Regions from separate parts of the Homo sapiens genome. Here region 1 is linked to region 2. Evidence: promoter capture Hi-C in 16 types of primary human blood cells and fetal thymus (Javierre and others, 2016). All regions are on one chromosome and are shown on one strand. The core of a region is centred on a gene start or on the middle of the fragment in contact, and the rest is flanking DNA. Distances in the headings are between cores, read along the strand shown. Region 1 has its middle 18 kb from the start of MIR6069. Region 2 holds the start of RASD2 (RASD family member 2).

Region 1 (7,082 bases), core at 2,233-4,732, 190 kb after region 2:
GTGGTCATCCCATTCCTCTTTGCCAGCGTAATTGTGCAGGTGGATTCCATTGTGCCGGATGAATGACCAGTCAGGAAGTTAGAGTAGCTTGTCTGAGGAGGTGACACAGTAGCTGAGCCCTGAAGGATGAATGAGTTAAGTCAGGTGGCCTGTTTTAGAGGAAATAGCACATACAAAGGCCCTGTGGTCAGGGCATGAAACTTTTTTTTTTTTTTTTTGAGATGGAGTCTCACTCTGTCGCCCAGGCTGGAGTACAGTGGTGCGATCTCAGCTCAGTGCAACATCCACCTCCCAGGTTCAAGTGATTCTCCTGCCTCAGCCTCCCGAGTAGCTGGGATTACAGGCATGCACTACCACGCCCTACTAATTTTTGTATTTTTAATAGAGATAGGATTTTACCATGTTGGCCAGGCTGGTCTCGATCTCCTGACCTCGTGATCCACATGCCTCAGGCTCCCAAAATGCTGGAATTACAGGCGTGAGCCACTGTGCCCAGCCCAGCATGAAACTTTTGAGGTGGGAAAGACAGCCTGTCTGGAGTGCAGAGAACCTGAAGAATGTGGCAGGGGACAGACTCCAGGGGCCCTGGAGGCCAGGCCAGGAGGTGGGTCTTTAGCCTGAGAGCAAGTGAAAGGTTTTAGGTGTGTGTGTTGGGTTTTGGGGGTGTGGGTATTGTAAAACATGGTCGGATTTGCCCTTTGAAATATATTTTCGGCTGGGTGCAGTGGCTCATGCCTGTAATTCCAGCACTTCGGGAGGCTGAGGTGGGAGGACCACTTGAACCCAGGAGTTGGAGACCAGCCTGGGCAACACAGTGAGACCCCATCTCTGCAAAAATATTTTTTAAAAAAATGACAGCTGGGCGTGGTGGGTCACGCCTGTAATCCCAACACTTTGGGAGGCCGAGGCAGGTGGATCACCTGAGGTCAGGACTTCGAGACCATCCTGACCTCAATATGGTGAAACCCTGTCTCTACTAAAAATACAAAAATTAGCTGGGTGTGGTGGCACGCGCCTGTAGTCCCAGCTACTCGGGAGGCTGAGACAGGAGAACTGCTTGAACCCGGGAAGTGGAGGTTGCAGTGAGCCGAGATCACACCACTGCACTCCAGCCTGGGTGACAGAGCAAGACTCCCTCTAAAAAAATAATAATAAATAAAATAAATAAATAAAAATAAAAATTAGCTGGGCGTGGTGGTATGTGCCTGTAGTCCTAGGTACTCAGGAGGCTGGGTGGGAGGACCGCTTGAGCAGGGGGTAGGGGAGAGGGGACGGGGGAAGCCGAGGTTGCAGTGAGCTGCAATCATGCCGCGGCATTCCAATCTGGGCAACAGAGCACGACCCCATTTCTTTAAAAAAAAAAATGAAATGTATTTGGCAGCATGTGAAGAAGTCACTGAGGGAAGGGCAGAGTCCTCCCCTAACTTCACGTCCAGTAAAAGCCCAAAGTCCTCCTGAAGGTTCCGGCAATCCCTGGTACTTGTGTTTTCACCACTTCCCCCACCCTGCTGTCCCAGCTTCTTCCTATTTCTGCTCTGAACTGTGCTGACTCAGACATGAAACTTGCTCCTTCCCCAGTTCCCCAAAACCCTACTCTTTTTTTATTTTTTTTGAGACGGAGTCTCACTCTGTCGCCCAGGCTGGGGTGCAATGGCGCCATCTCTGCTCACTGCAACTCCACCTCCCGGGTTTGGGCAATTCTCTTGTCTCAGCCTCCCAAGTAGCTGGGATTACATGCGCCCGCCTCCACGTCTGGCTAATTTTTTGTATTTTTAGTAGAGATGAGGTTTCACCATGTTGGCCAGGCTAGTCTCGAACTCCTGACCTCAGGTGATCCATCCGTCTCTGCCGCCCAAAGTGCTGGGATTACAGGGGTGAGTCACCATGCCTGGCCCAAAACCCTACTCTTGACAAATACTTATGAGCAGAGCATTTACTAAAGATCTCAGGGCCACAGAGAGGGGTGACATTAGACAGAACCTAGAGAACAATCTAATACAGCATCTGTTCTTCCGAATCTTTTTTGGCTACTCCTCTCCCTTCCCTCCCTCTACCCCAGTAGTTGACCTCTGATCCTCCCCCAACTCTTTGCCTGGGGCCCAGTAGCTCACCCTCTCCTGCCTTCTCTCTCTTCCCTTTCCCCGTTCTTGTCTCTGTGCTCTCAGGCCCTCTTCCAGATGGCCCGGTAGGATTCACCTCCCTCTTAAGAGCAGAGCAGTCCAGCTGTCTCCAGCTCCCTCCCCAAGCTTGCAGATCCAAAGTCCCTGTGCACAAACATGGACATGAGAGAGCTTCCTTTTCTCCAACCATTGTCTTCAACCATGCCCAGCCTCCACCAGGGTCCTTTGTGACATCTTGGGTGGTTTTGCTAACTTTCTTGTCATTTTCAAGTACAAAAAAGTCCAATCTTGGCGCAGTGGCTCACACATGTAATCCCAGCACTTTGGGAGGCCGAGGTGGGTGGATTGCTTGAGCTCAGGAGTTTCAGACCAGCCTGGCCAACATGATGAAACCCTATCTCTGCTACAAACACAAAAATTAGCCAGACATAGTGGCACACGCCTGTAATCCCAGCTACTTGGGTGGCTGAGGCAGGAGAATCACTTGAACCCAGGAGGCAGAGGCTGCAGTGAGCCGAAATAGCGCCACTACACTCCAGCGTGGGTGACAGAATGAGATCCCATCTCAAAAAAAAAAAAAAAAGTCCAGTCTTGAAGTTTAATCTCACATCGAATTTGATATCCCCTCCTCCCTCCCCTTAGCACTTCAGGAGGGTATGGCCAGCTCCTTCACTCTCCCTTCCTTGCCTCTGTCTCCTGGGTCCCTGTGTTGCAGAGTTGAGGTGAGGGGATGGGAGGGCAGAGCCATGTTTACGTGGGGACGGTGCAGAAGCCAGGGTGGCCGTCGATGGAGATGCCCAATGCGTGTGAAGGCCAAGGCTGGCAGGAGCCGTGGGGGAGCCCCTGGCCAGCAGTGAGCATGGCTATCTTCAGCTCCTGCCCTTTTGGGTTGGGGTTCTGCTCCAAACAGTGGGTGGGCCCAGAGGGGCTGGGCAAACAGAGGCTGTGCTGTTAGTTCCCTCAGATGAGGCTGCCCAGGCAACTGGAGCACTTTTGGATGGAACGAGATACTGCATTGGTGTATTAAAAGTCTGATTACTGCCGGGCGCAGTGCCTCGCACCTGTAATCCCAGCACTTTGGGAGGTCGAGGTGGGTGGATCACTTGAGGTCAGGAGCTCGAGACCAGCCTAGCCAACATGGTGAGACCCCATCTCTACTAAAAATACAAAAATTAGCCAGGCGTGGTGGCATGTGTCTGTAATCCCAGCTACTTGGGAGGCTGAGGCAGGAGAATCACTTGAACCCGGGAGGCGGAGGTTGCAGTAAGCCGATATTGCGCCACTGCACTCCAGCCTGGGGGACACAGCGGGACTCTGTCTCAAAAAAAAAAAAAAAAAAAAGTCTTGATTACTGATGCCCAAAAGGGAAAAATATTAACAACTCAATGCATTGTGGAATGTTTTGTGGCCAAAAATCAAAACAAACAAAACTCTTCTAAATCCATAGTCTTGGGGAGAGACCATGATAGAAGATTTCCTTGGGGAGAGAAGGTTTTAGAACCCACTGGCCTAGTTGGTCTCTGAGGCTGAAAGTTCTGTGGGAGCCCAGAGCACGGTGCAGGGTGCTGGGGAGGGCCTTCTGAAGACAGACTTCCCAGCTGTCCTCCATTCGCCCACCTCCTGCGGGGCAGGTGCTATGGAGGACCGGGATTCTAGTTTCAGTTCTTTTACAAATTTGCTGTGTGGCCTTGGGCAAGTCTCTGCACTGGTCTGGGCCTGAGAAGGGATCCTGAGGGAGGGCCCCATCTCAGCAGCCAGCCTTCTCCCTGCAGGGGTCCAGTGGCCTCTGCAGCCTAAGTGGCTTGCAGGGCTCAGGGCTACTCATACAGATAATGTACACAGTGACTTTTCTAGCCCCAAGGCAGACCTAGGCGCAGCCCCAGGCCCAGAATAGAGTGCACTTCATCCTGATCCCCCAGGGACCTTTTCTCCCCAGAAAAGAGGACTCAATGTTTCCACTTGCCGGCTGTGTGGCTTTGGATTAGCTAGTTGACTTTTCTGACCTCACCCCCTCCTTTGTAAAATGAAGATTCTTTTTTTTTTTTTTAATTTGTATATTTTTTGAGATGGAGTCTCACTCTTGTTGCCCAGGCTGGAGTACAGTGGCGCGATTTCGGCTCACTGCAGCCTCCGCCTCCCGGGTTCAAGCGATTCTTCTGCCTCAGCCTCCCTGGTAGCTGGGATTACAGACACCCACAACCACGCCTGGCTAATTTTTGCATTTTTAGTAGAGACAGGGTTTCGCCATGTTAGCCAGGCTGGTCTTGAACTCCTGACCTCGGGTGATCCACCCACCTCGGCCTCCCAAAGTGCTGCGATTACAGGCGTGAGCCACTGCGCCTGGCTGAAGATTCATTTTTAACAGAGCTTCCAAGGGCTCCAGTGAGGGCAGGGTCCTGTGGGGAGCATGGGCAGCACCCCCATTCCTCAGTTCACCCACTTGCTTTTCCCTTTCCTAGGGGTACCCCAGGGCAGGTGCAAGGATGTCCCCGGCTTGGGTTTCGCTTCCCTCCTGCCCCTAGGCGGTCAGCTTCCTGTGCGGGCATTCAGCAGGGTGTGTGGGTGGCCGCCTCCACCCATTGGTCCCACTGAAGCTTGGGCAGTTGTTTCCCTATCGCCGCTGGTCCTGGAGGGGAGATAAACCCGGGGTCCTGCTTCCCTCTCTTGTAGATATTTGAGTTTCTTTCCTCGTATTTCTTTCCTTTTTGGAAGGAGGATTATGGAATTTGGGGGTTGATAGGGCAGAAAAGCAGAGTGCAAAGGGGCCTTACGCTCTCTTAAATCAAGCCGATTAACAGATGGGGAAACTGAGGCCCAGAGAGAGGAGAAGGCTTGCTCCAAATCAAACAGGAAGTCAGTGTCTGTGCACCGCTGGAAGCTCGGTTGGCTGACTCCTGGGCCGTGCTTGGACCTGACACAGGGGGCCCCAGGAGTCCCCACCCTCCACCCTGCACTGACTTCCCTGTGCTTGTGCGTGGGTGGGGGCTGCTTCCTCCCCGGGCAGGCTGGGCTGGCACACAGAGCCTCCTGGGCCCCTGCACCAGGTAGGGAGGCAGTACACTGGTCAGGGCAGGCCCCTCCCCTCCCTGGGCCTCCACTTCCCTGTCTGCACATTTCTCACCCGCCTCAAGAGGTCCAAGTGCCCTGCCAACCTGACTCTGACCCACTGGGGATTTGGGGCCCTGGTCAGCTTGGGTTCCTTCCCTCTGCTGGCCAGCCTGGTCCACGGTGCACAGAGGGTGCAGGGCCAGCCTGCAGCAGGGGCAGGAAGACGTCACGGGAGTCCTGAGTCAGAGGCAAGGGGTGAGGATTCGGCCCGGCGAAGCTGCTTCCTCCAGTCTCGCCCTGTACCAGGGTGGGTGGAAGTGAAACCTGCCAGCTTACCCGCTTGGGTCTGCTCTGAAAAAACAAGCGGACATGGGGACCAGGAGAGCAGCCCCAGCCCAGCTCCCAGCACCTGTATCTCCCTCCACTCTGCCGGCACCCCTGCTCGCTCCTGGTCCCATGGCTAATCCTTGGATCTAAGGCTAGGCTGCCCTAGGATGAATCTAGCCACCCTCAAACTCCCACTAGGGCAGGGGGCAGGGGGCAGGGAGTGGAGGCGGGTGTTTCATGTGGCAGCCCCTCTGAAGACACTGTGGCCACCTGCGAAAGAGCAGTGTGTCTGGGAGAATGGACCCAGGGCCTAGAGGGCAGCAGAGGGCAATACAGGGCTGCTTCGTCCCTTTGAATTCATACGTTGAATCTCTAATCCCTAGTATATCAGAATGCGATTGTATTTGGAGGTAGGACCTTTAAAGAAGTGCCAGGCACTGTGGCTCACACCTGTAATCCCAGCACTTTGGGAGGCCGAGGCGGGTGAATCACACGAGGTTGGGAGTTCGAGACCAGCCTGGCCAACATGGAGAAAACCCGTCTCTACTAAAAATACAAAATTAGCCAGGTGTGATGGCGCATGCCTGTAATCTCAGCTACTCAGGAGGCTGAGGCAGGATAATTGCTTGAACTGGGAGGCGGAGGTTGCAGTAAGCCGAGATCGCGCCATTGCACTCCAGCCTGGGCAACAAGAGTGAAACTCTGTCTCAAAAAAAAAAAAAAAAAAAGTGATTAAGGTACAATAGGTACAATAGATCATTAGGTGGACTCTAATCCTTGATGAATGCTGTCCTTATAAAAATGGGACTTTTGAACATAGAGAGATGCAGAGGGGATATGATGTGAGGCCCCAGGGAGAAGATGACCATATACAGCCACGGAGGGGCCGGAAGGAACCAACTGAACAGATGGAGTCCACGTCCTTGATGTTGAACTTCAGCCTCTAGAACTGTGAGAAAGAAGATTTCTGTGTCTAGGGGCCTGTCTGTGGGGCAGGGTGGTGGCGGTCCACGCGGAGAGGGTGGGAGGCACTGGCAGGACGGGGCAGTGGTGGCAACAGAGATTGGTTTCTGCGGGGATGGGGGGAGAGAAGGAATGAAGGACGGCGGGAAGCAGGTTTCTCACTGCTGGAGAAGGGAATTAGACATAGGGGAAGGGCGGAAAAGAGAAGGAATCTGTGGTAGAGCTGGAGTTACTGGGCGAGCTCATGATTTGTCTACACGTGGAGACAGAAACGGCAATGCACACGGATCTGAGCGTGTCGGCTGAGAAGGCGCGGGAGCAGGGGGCCCCAGCAACGGCACACCGGGGCTCTGTAAAGAGAGGGAGGGGACCGGGCTCACTTTTGCCCACCCAAAGCTCCCGTAGCTGAGCTCCCAGCTTGTCTCACCAAATCCTCCCCACAACCCTGTGAATCGGGACGTTTAAGAAGATCTGAGGCTTCCAGAGATGAAATCCCTTGTGTAGTCCCACAGCAGAGCCCGGCGGTGAAGCCAGACCCTCGGACTCCAGCTCCCAGCCCCATCACCATTGTTACTCAGCCCCACCAGTCAGAGGGCGTGTGCGCGTGTGTGTGTGCACGCGCGC
Region 2 (6,959 bases), core at 1,874-4,373:
GAGGCAGGGAGTCAGAGAGAGGAGGCAGAGAGTCAGAGAGAGGAGGCAGTGAGACAGAGAGGGGAGGCAGGGAGTCAGACAGAGGAGGCAGGGAGACAGAGAGAGGAGGCAGGGAGTCAGAGAGGAGGCAAAGAGTCAGAGAGAGGAGGCAAGGTGACAGATAGAGGAGGCAAGGAGTCAGAAATAAGAGACAGGGAATCAGGGTGGGGAAAAAGAGAAAAAAAATCCTCTGTGGTTTTTATCTCTGAGAGAAGACTGATTCTTCACATGGCCTGAGCCACGTGGGGCTGTGTGAGACATCTGGACACCTGGACGCCAGGGGACAGTGCCTCTGTGGGCTCCGCCTCCTGCCTCCACATCTTTCTTCCCTCTCTTCCCCCAGAGGTGGCACCATGGGCACCCTCGTAGGCACATCTCTCCTCTGCAGCCTGTTCTCCCTTCTCCATCCTCAGCCAGGCTGACCTCATACAGCGAGGAGCAGACAGGGATGAGTTTGAAGAGCCCTTTGGGAATTTAGAGTCCAATATCAGTGACTGAATGGATTTCAGGAAGTCAGAGAGAGGAGGCAGGGAATCAGAGAGGGGAAGTAAGGAATCAGAGAGAGGAGGCTCAGAGAGGCAGGAAATTCAACGGAGACCCCCTAGCGGCACAGGTATCTGAATGCACATACTGTGACTACTGACCCCATCACAGGGCCATTCTGAGGACAGGTGGAAGCCAGAAAGTTCCCAGAGCAGAGATGAGGGGACGCCATCCTGGGGGCACAGTAACCACAGCCAGGAAGGCATCCATCAGCCCACTTGACTGATGGGGACACTGATGCTCAGAGAGGTTAAGTCACTTGCCCCAGTTCACACAGCAGATGACTAGCTGGGCTGGGATCAGAACCAGGCTGTTTGGCTTCAAAGTCTGGGCTCTTAACTCTATGAAAACCCACCCCCAGCCAAAACTGGTCTTTTCCAAAACACTGTCTGTCTCAGTGAAGCCTCAGCTGGCATCAGGCGGGGGGATGACGCCGAGACATACTATATTCTCACTCCCTCTCTCCCTGCAGGCAGCGGAGCGGAAAGGGGGCAGGCACCTCCCAGGATTCTCCCCTAACCCTGCCAGCCACCTCTGAGCAAGTGCACCTGTGGATTCACCACTTCTCCCTTGAGCCTCTCTCCCAGGGCCTGCCTGAAAGATGAAGGGGTCACACGGGCACAGGCAGCAGGACAAGAGTCTGGACGTGTCCTCCCGGTGTATGCCCCAGAGCCTGTTTCACTGCACTGCCCCTCCTCCACACCCCCATGCCTCCTCCATCAGTGCACACTCAGCCTCTTTGGACACGCACATTGCCATCACTGGCTTCCAGCTGCCACTCTGAGAGTCCGGGAGCTTGGCAAAGCCAACCCCACCACCCTTGGCAGCTCAGGTGGTAGAAGGTAGGCAGGCATCCACTTCTGGCAGGCCAACTCTGCCTCTCACCAGCCCGGCAGCCCTGGGCAAATGACTTGGCTTCCTGGGGCTCAGGTTATTCCTCTGTTAATGGTAAGACATAAACCCCCTGTGTGGCCCTGGGTTTCCAATAAGTCTGGAGGCTGACCCAGCTCTTGACCCGCAGCAAACCTGAACACATGCTGGGTTCTTTTCTTCGTGGCACTTTATCTTGGCAGTCGTGGGGCTGCCTAGAGCAGCCTGGTGAGGCTGGACTGGAATGCAGGCGCAGGTCTTGCAGGGACCCCATCTTGTCTCTGACACCACAGGAGGCTTGATTCACTGGCTCCTGACCTGGCTGCTCCCTCCCAGCCTGGCTTCCCACCTTCCATGAGGTCTTGGACAACATCCCCTGTCATCCTCCTGGTGCTGGGGACAAGGGGAGGGGAGGGCACAGAGAGGCCTCCAGAGCTGCCTTCCGGGCCCTCCAAGACAGCTAAGTTACAGGAAACCCCTCCTGGGAAGGGAATCATCCAGGAAACTCACTCTGCACCAACCCAGAAAAAGCTCAAGAACTCTGGATAACGAAGGAGCTTCTTAATCTTCCTTCCCCACCTCCAGGTAATGCAGGCTGCAGCCAGCTCCAGAAGAGGGACAGGAGTGTTTGTGGTAGTTGACTCGTCTTCCCTGAGCCCCCGTTTCCTCCTATTTAAATGGGCTATTACTCTAGCTCTTTAAATGCAAAGCCTGTGGCACCAAAACTAGCACATAGTAGAAGCTCAATAAATCTTTCTTTCCTGGGATTAAGTCAAGGGTATAGCACTCAGTTTGACACATACAGTAGGTGCTCAACGAATTTAATTCTCTCTAGGTATGCAAAGTTGCCAGACGATCCCGGCACATAGTAGGTGCTCAATCAATTTCACTTTCTCTGGTCATCTAAGGAATCACTGAGCTTTCCTCCTCCAAGCCTCTACCCTTTCTTCCCGGCTGCTCCACTTCCCCCAGATGCCCAGCTCTGTTGGGGCGTCTCCTACCTGGGAATGGCGGGCCGGGCCTCTGGCACGGCTCAGAGAGCTGCCTGGAAGCGCCGGGAGCTGCGGGGAGCTGCCTGCTGCTCCAGCCGCCGAGCCTCCCAGAGTCTGTGGTGGCTCCCGGGTCACTGCGCGGGGATCCTCCCCTGCGCTGCTCGGGACGCCGGGCTGGGCGCGGCCGGGCAAGGAGGCGCAAGGGGCAGGTGCCCCATGGGTGGGCTCCGAGGGCTCGGCGGGGCCCGGGCAGGGGGCGGGCTCCGGCTCGCCGCCGCCGGCCCTGCCCTGCCCCGAGCCGGGGGCCTCCTGCTGAGCCAGGTGCCCGGAGGCTTGGGGACGTCCGATCCGGGGGTCCCCGCCTGGGGCTCTCGGGCTGGGGGCAGAGAGGTAGGGGCGACTCCAGTGATGAAGGAGCAGCTCCTAGAGACTTGGGGAGGGGGGGTCCTTTGGAGGTGACTGTGGGTGCGTGTCCCAGGTGGGCGAACCCTCCTGGTCGCCTATGCCACCTTCTCCGCCTGCCCCAAAGGGGGTCGCTCGGATGGGGGGTATCGGGCTGCCGGGCTCGGCCGCGGCCTCCTTCTCTGCCCGCGGCTCTGCAGCTCTCCCAGCGCCGGAGGGACGGCTTCTTTCTCCCCGCGCGGCGACGCCAGCAGCTGAAGGAGGAGCAGGGCGCTCTGCTCTGCGCGCGTGTGGGAGGGGGCCTTGAACGCCGCCCCAAGGTTTCGCAGCTCCAAGTTAGCATCAACCCGGCTCCTCCTCCTTCACCTCCTCCTGTCCCCAGATGAGGAGAACTTTGTGTGTGGCCCTGGGTTCTCCCTCCTTCCCCCTCTCGCAGGCAGATGCCCCACTGTCACCCGCAGGGCGAAGAGGTCGCTGATCCCTCCGAAAGGTGGCAGAACCCCAGGCTCCTGATGACGGTCCCAGCGGCACCCTCCCGCGCCCCTGCGAGCGTCGCCCACCTGCTCCTTCGGCCCCCCGCGAGCCGCGCCTCCCGCCGCCCAGCGCCAGCGTCTGCCCCCCAGAGCCCGCTCGCCCCGCCCCACCCCGGCGCCCCGCCTCGCCCCGGCGCCCGGCCAATGGGAGGCGGGTCCCGCGGCCCGGCCCCGCCCATCCCTTTCGCGGCCTCCGGGGCGCCGCGGTCTGCGGTTCCGCGTGTCCGGGCGCGTGGGGCCGGGGCCGCTGGGCGCGCGCACCTTGCCCAGAAGGCGGCCCGGGCCTCGGAGGCTGACGTCTGCGCACGCGCTCACACGCACGCCCGGCCTGGCCGCAGGTGACCCGCATGGGGTCCGGCCGCCTGCCCACTCGGCCGGGGTCTCCAGCGGCTTGCGCCCGGCCAGGTCGAGCGCGCCACGGTTCCAGCGCCCTCCTCCTTCGCGGAAGTCCCCGGGTGCCCTCCCAGGTGTCCAACCTGCCTGTCCCAGCCGCCGCCTCCCTCCCGAGCTCACGGTGCCCACGGGACCCTGCGGACTGGCACATGGGCCATGCACGTGTCGCCCAGAGGGGCGGGGAGTCACCTAGGCTTAGTAGCCAGAGGTCTTCGAGGCATGCGAGTCTCAGAGACCACGGCCGACGGGGACACACCAGGTGCCTTGAGCATTGCGTCTCCTGCCTGCATTCTCCCTCCCCACCTTTAAATGAGGGGCTTGACCTAGGCCAGACATCGGGCCTTCTCACTGGGCCATATCTCCACACCACTTATTACTTAATATATTTTTTAAAATATCAGATCCACTTTCCCCACCCCTTAAACACGTTTTTTTAGAGAATCATTATATCACTGCCTTAAATGGGAAATCAGTATCACTTGCCATAAATAGAAAGTAAGAGTTAAAATAAGCACAGTGAAAACAAAGCAAGGTTATTAAATTCCAGCTGGAAACCGTGGCCTGCCAAGGCTTGAGATGTGTGCCCTCAGTGAAAAAGGGAGATTGGCAAGGTTTGGAGAGGTGTTAAATACCCATTAGCACCTAACAGAGACTTTCTCCTTCACATATCAGGAGGCTTAAAAGAGAATGTTCTCGTTGTGTGATACAGCAAAGGGATGGGATGCTGTGTCTGTGTCCCTCAGTTCCAGATCCCTGGACCTCAGGGATGTCTGCCAGCCTCACCCCCAACCCAGATCTGGCCTCCCTACCTCATGAGAGGACGCAGGGGTCTGGGAGGGCACCTGAGGGGTCAGCTCCATTGGCTGAGAGACTGGCGTTCAAGTCCTGTCTCCGTAACTACCTAGATATCTGACCCTGGGCCGTCATGAAAAGTCTCTGGGTCCTGGTTGTGCCATCTCTAAAATGGGTATGATATTGATGGGTCCACAGAATGACAGAAGTACTAAAATGGCCTGGGACTTTGAATATGGAAAGTGACTTGCTTTGCTTGTCTCTGTAACATCTTGAGATTCTCCAGGAAAGTTAACCAGAGAGGATGGGGCAGGTGGGGGTGGAGGGTGCAGTACCTGTACTACCTGATTGTGTTTAATGCCCCAATTTAGGCCACAGAGGGGCTAAGGGGATGTGCCCAAAGTCACCTGGTGGCAAGTGGCAGGATTGCAGCCTGGTGCATTTTCCACATCCAGACTTTGCCTCTGGGAACTGGCTTCAGCCCGGGAGGGTTTGTGCTGGGCATGACACACACAGGCTGTGAGCCTTGAGCTGGCAGTGAACTTGGCAGTGGGAGGTGAGCAGGGTGGCACGCTTCACCTGGAAGGCTGGGGTCAGGAAGACTCAGGTCGCTGGGCCAGCTCTGCCACCTCCATCACGGAAATGTAGCAGACGGCCCAAGAACCAATTGCTCCCTGCTTCTGCAGAGTTGTTCAACAGAATGGGTCATGTCCCACTGACCATATCCCAGTCGCGAGGGGAGCTGCATGTGGAGTGAGAACCCTGGGAGGTCCACTTGCCCCAGCCTCTGTCTTCTGCTCCTGCCCTCCCCCACTCCTGGTATGGTAGGGCTCAGTCAATAAGCAAATACACATAAGGGATCAACTGATGCCCAAGGAAGCTTTGTGTAGCAACAGCACACTTCTCACATGTGCCTATTTTCCCCTTCCCCCCTCCCCACCCACTTGCTTTATCATCCCTCATCAGACCCTTTGTCATAGCTGCCCCCTTCGTCCCTGGGCTCCCTGTCACCCTCTCTCTCCCATATAACCTGTGACCATTTTAGCCCTGTTCTAAAACTGCCACCTCCTGCTCAAGAGTTTTCAAGGGCTCCCCATTGCTTAAGATATAAAATCTTGGGCTGGGTGTGGTGGCTCACGCCTATAATCCCAGCACTTTGGGAGGCCAAGATGGGAGGATCACTTGAGGCCAATAGTTTGAGACCAGCCTGGCCAACATAGCAAAACCCTACTACTAAAAATATAAAATATAATAATTTTATACTAAAAATATAAAAACTACCCAGGCGTGGTGGTGTGCGCCTATAATTCCAGCTACTCGGGAGGCTGGGACATGAGAATTGCTTGTATCCAGGAGGCAGAGGTTGCAGTGAGCCGAGATCGTGTCACTGTGCTCTAGCCTGGGCGACGGAGCAAGACTCTGTCTCAAAAAAAAAAAAAAGATATAAAGTCTAAAAATCTAAATTCCTTATCCTAGCGAACAAGGCCTCCAACCAGGACGTGATTCCCACCATGCCCTGCACTCAACCTCCATTCCAGCAAAATCAAATCACTTCCGGGTCTCTAAAGAAGAGAAGCTATCCCTCCTCTGAGCTTGTGTATGCTGGTTTCTTATCAGGGATACCCTTTTCTCTGTATTTACCCATCAAACTCCTACACATTCTTCAAAGCACTGTGTCCACACTTCTCCCCACAAAACTTACTCCCAGCCTTTCTAATGGTGTGAATCTCCTCCTCTGGGCTCCCACAGCACCAAAGCCTGGCTCTTGTGCTGTGGGTAACTGGTCCTCTCTTTAAGCCTCAGTTTCTTGGCCTGTAAAAGTGGGTGTTACAATAGTAGCTGCCTCGTGGAGTTGTTGGGAGGATTAAAATAAACTGCGAAGTGCTTCACACATAATGGCCTTCACCATGATTACTTCCTCCGTAGCCGGTGTTACTTCCTGCTTCATATTTTGGACACATGCCTCGTCACCCCCATTAGCATGTGAGCTCTTTTGAGTGGGGACCGAGCCTGATTCATCCTTTTATTCTCACATCATTAAGGGCAGCATCTCACACATTATAAGTTTTTAATAAATGCTTATTGAATTGTGTTCAGCCAAACAGTCTCAGAGCAGAAGAAACGTACAAGCTCTCCTTGGACACAGGGAAGGGTGGACAGACACAGTGAAGCAGAGTTTCACTTAGTCCTCCTAACAGCCCCACTTACAGAAGGGGAAACTGAGGTTCAGGGAGACTGTTCAAAACCAGGCAGCTAATGAGAGGCTGAGCTGGGGTCCAAGAGAAATTATTCCAATAGGAAAAAAAGCACACGTCAGGCTGCTTTTCTAGAACAGCAGTTCCTAATGCTGGCGGCGCATTAGAATCACCTAGGGGAGCTTTTAAAAGATACCAAA

Evidence for each region. Contacts are between HindIII fragments. The CHiCAGO score rates a contact against its expected background, and 5 or more counts as called.
Region 1: a contact is called between a fragment that was not itself captured here and the fragment with the promoter of RASD2 in region 2, in 2 of 17 cell types (erythroblasts and M0 macrophages). The highest score is 5.3, in erythroblasts.

What each region holds. Positions count from the first base shown.
Region 1 is chr22:35,351,064-35,358,145 of GRCh38, reverse strand. No RefSeq gene overlaps it. Among named protein-coding and RNA genes, the nearest start is that of MIR6069, 18 kb to the right of the region's middle. RefSeq lists enhancers at 4,969-5,028, 5,529-5,668, 4,972-5,847, 6,979-7,082, 6,665-7,082. The HindIII fragment of the contact is 2,468 bases long and covers 2,249-4,716 here.
Region 2 is chr22:35,536,995-35,543,953 of GRCh38, reverse strand. RASD2 (RASD family member 2) reads right to left here and starts at 3,123. Exons shown (of 3, transcript NM_014310.4): 1 at 2,454-3,123. RefSeq lists enhancers at 2,773-3,335, 3,336-3,898, 3,899-4,461 and a silencer at 3,432-3,651. The HindIII fragment of the contact is 7,504 bases long and covers 1-5,446 here.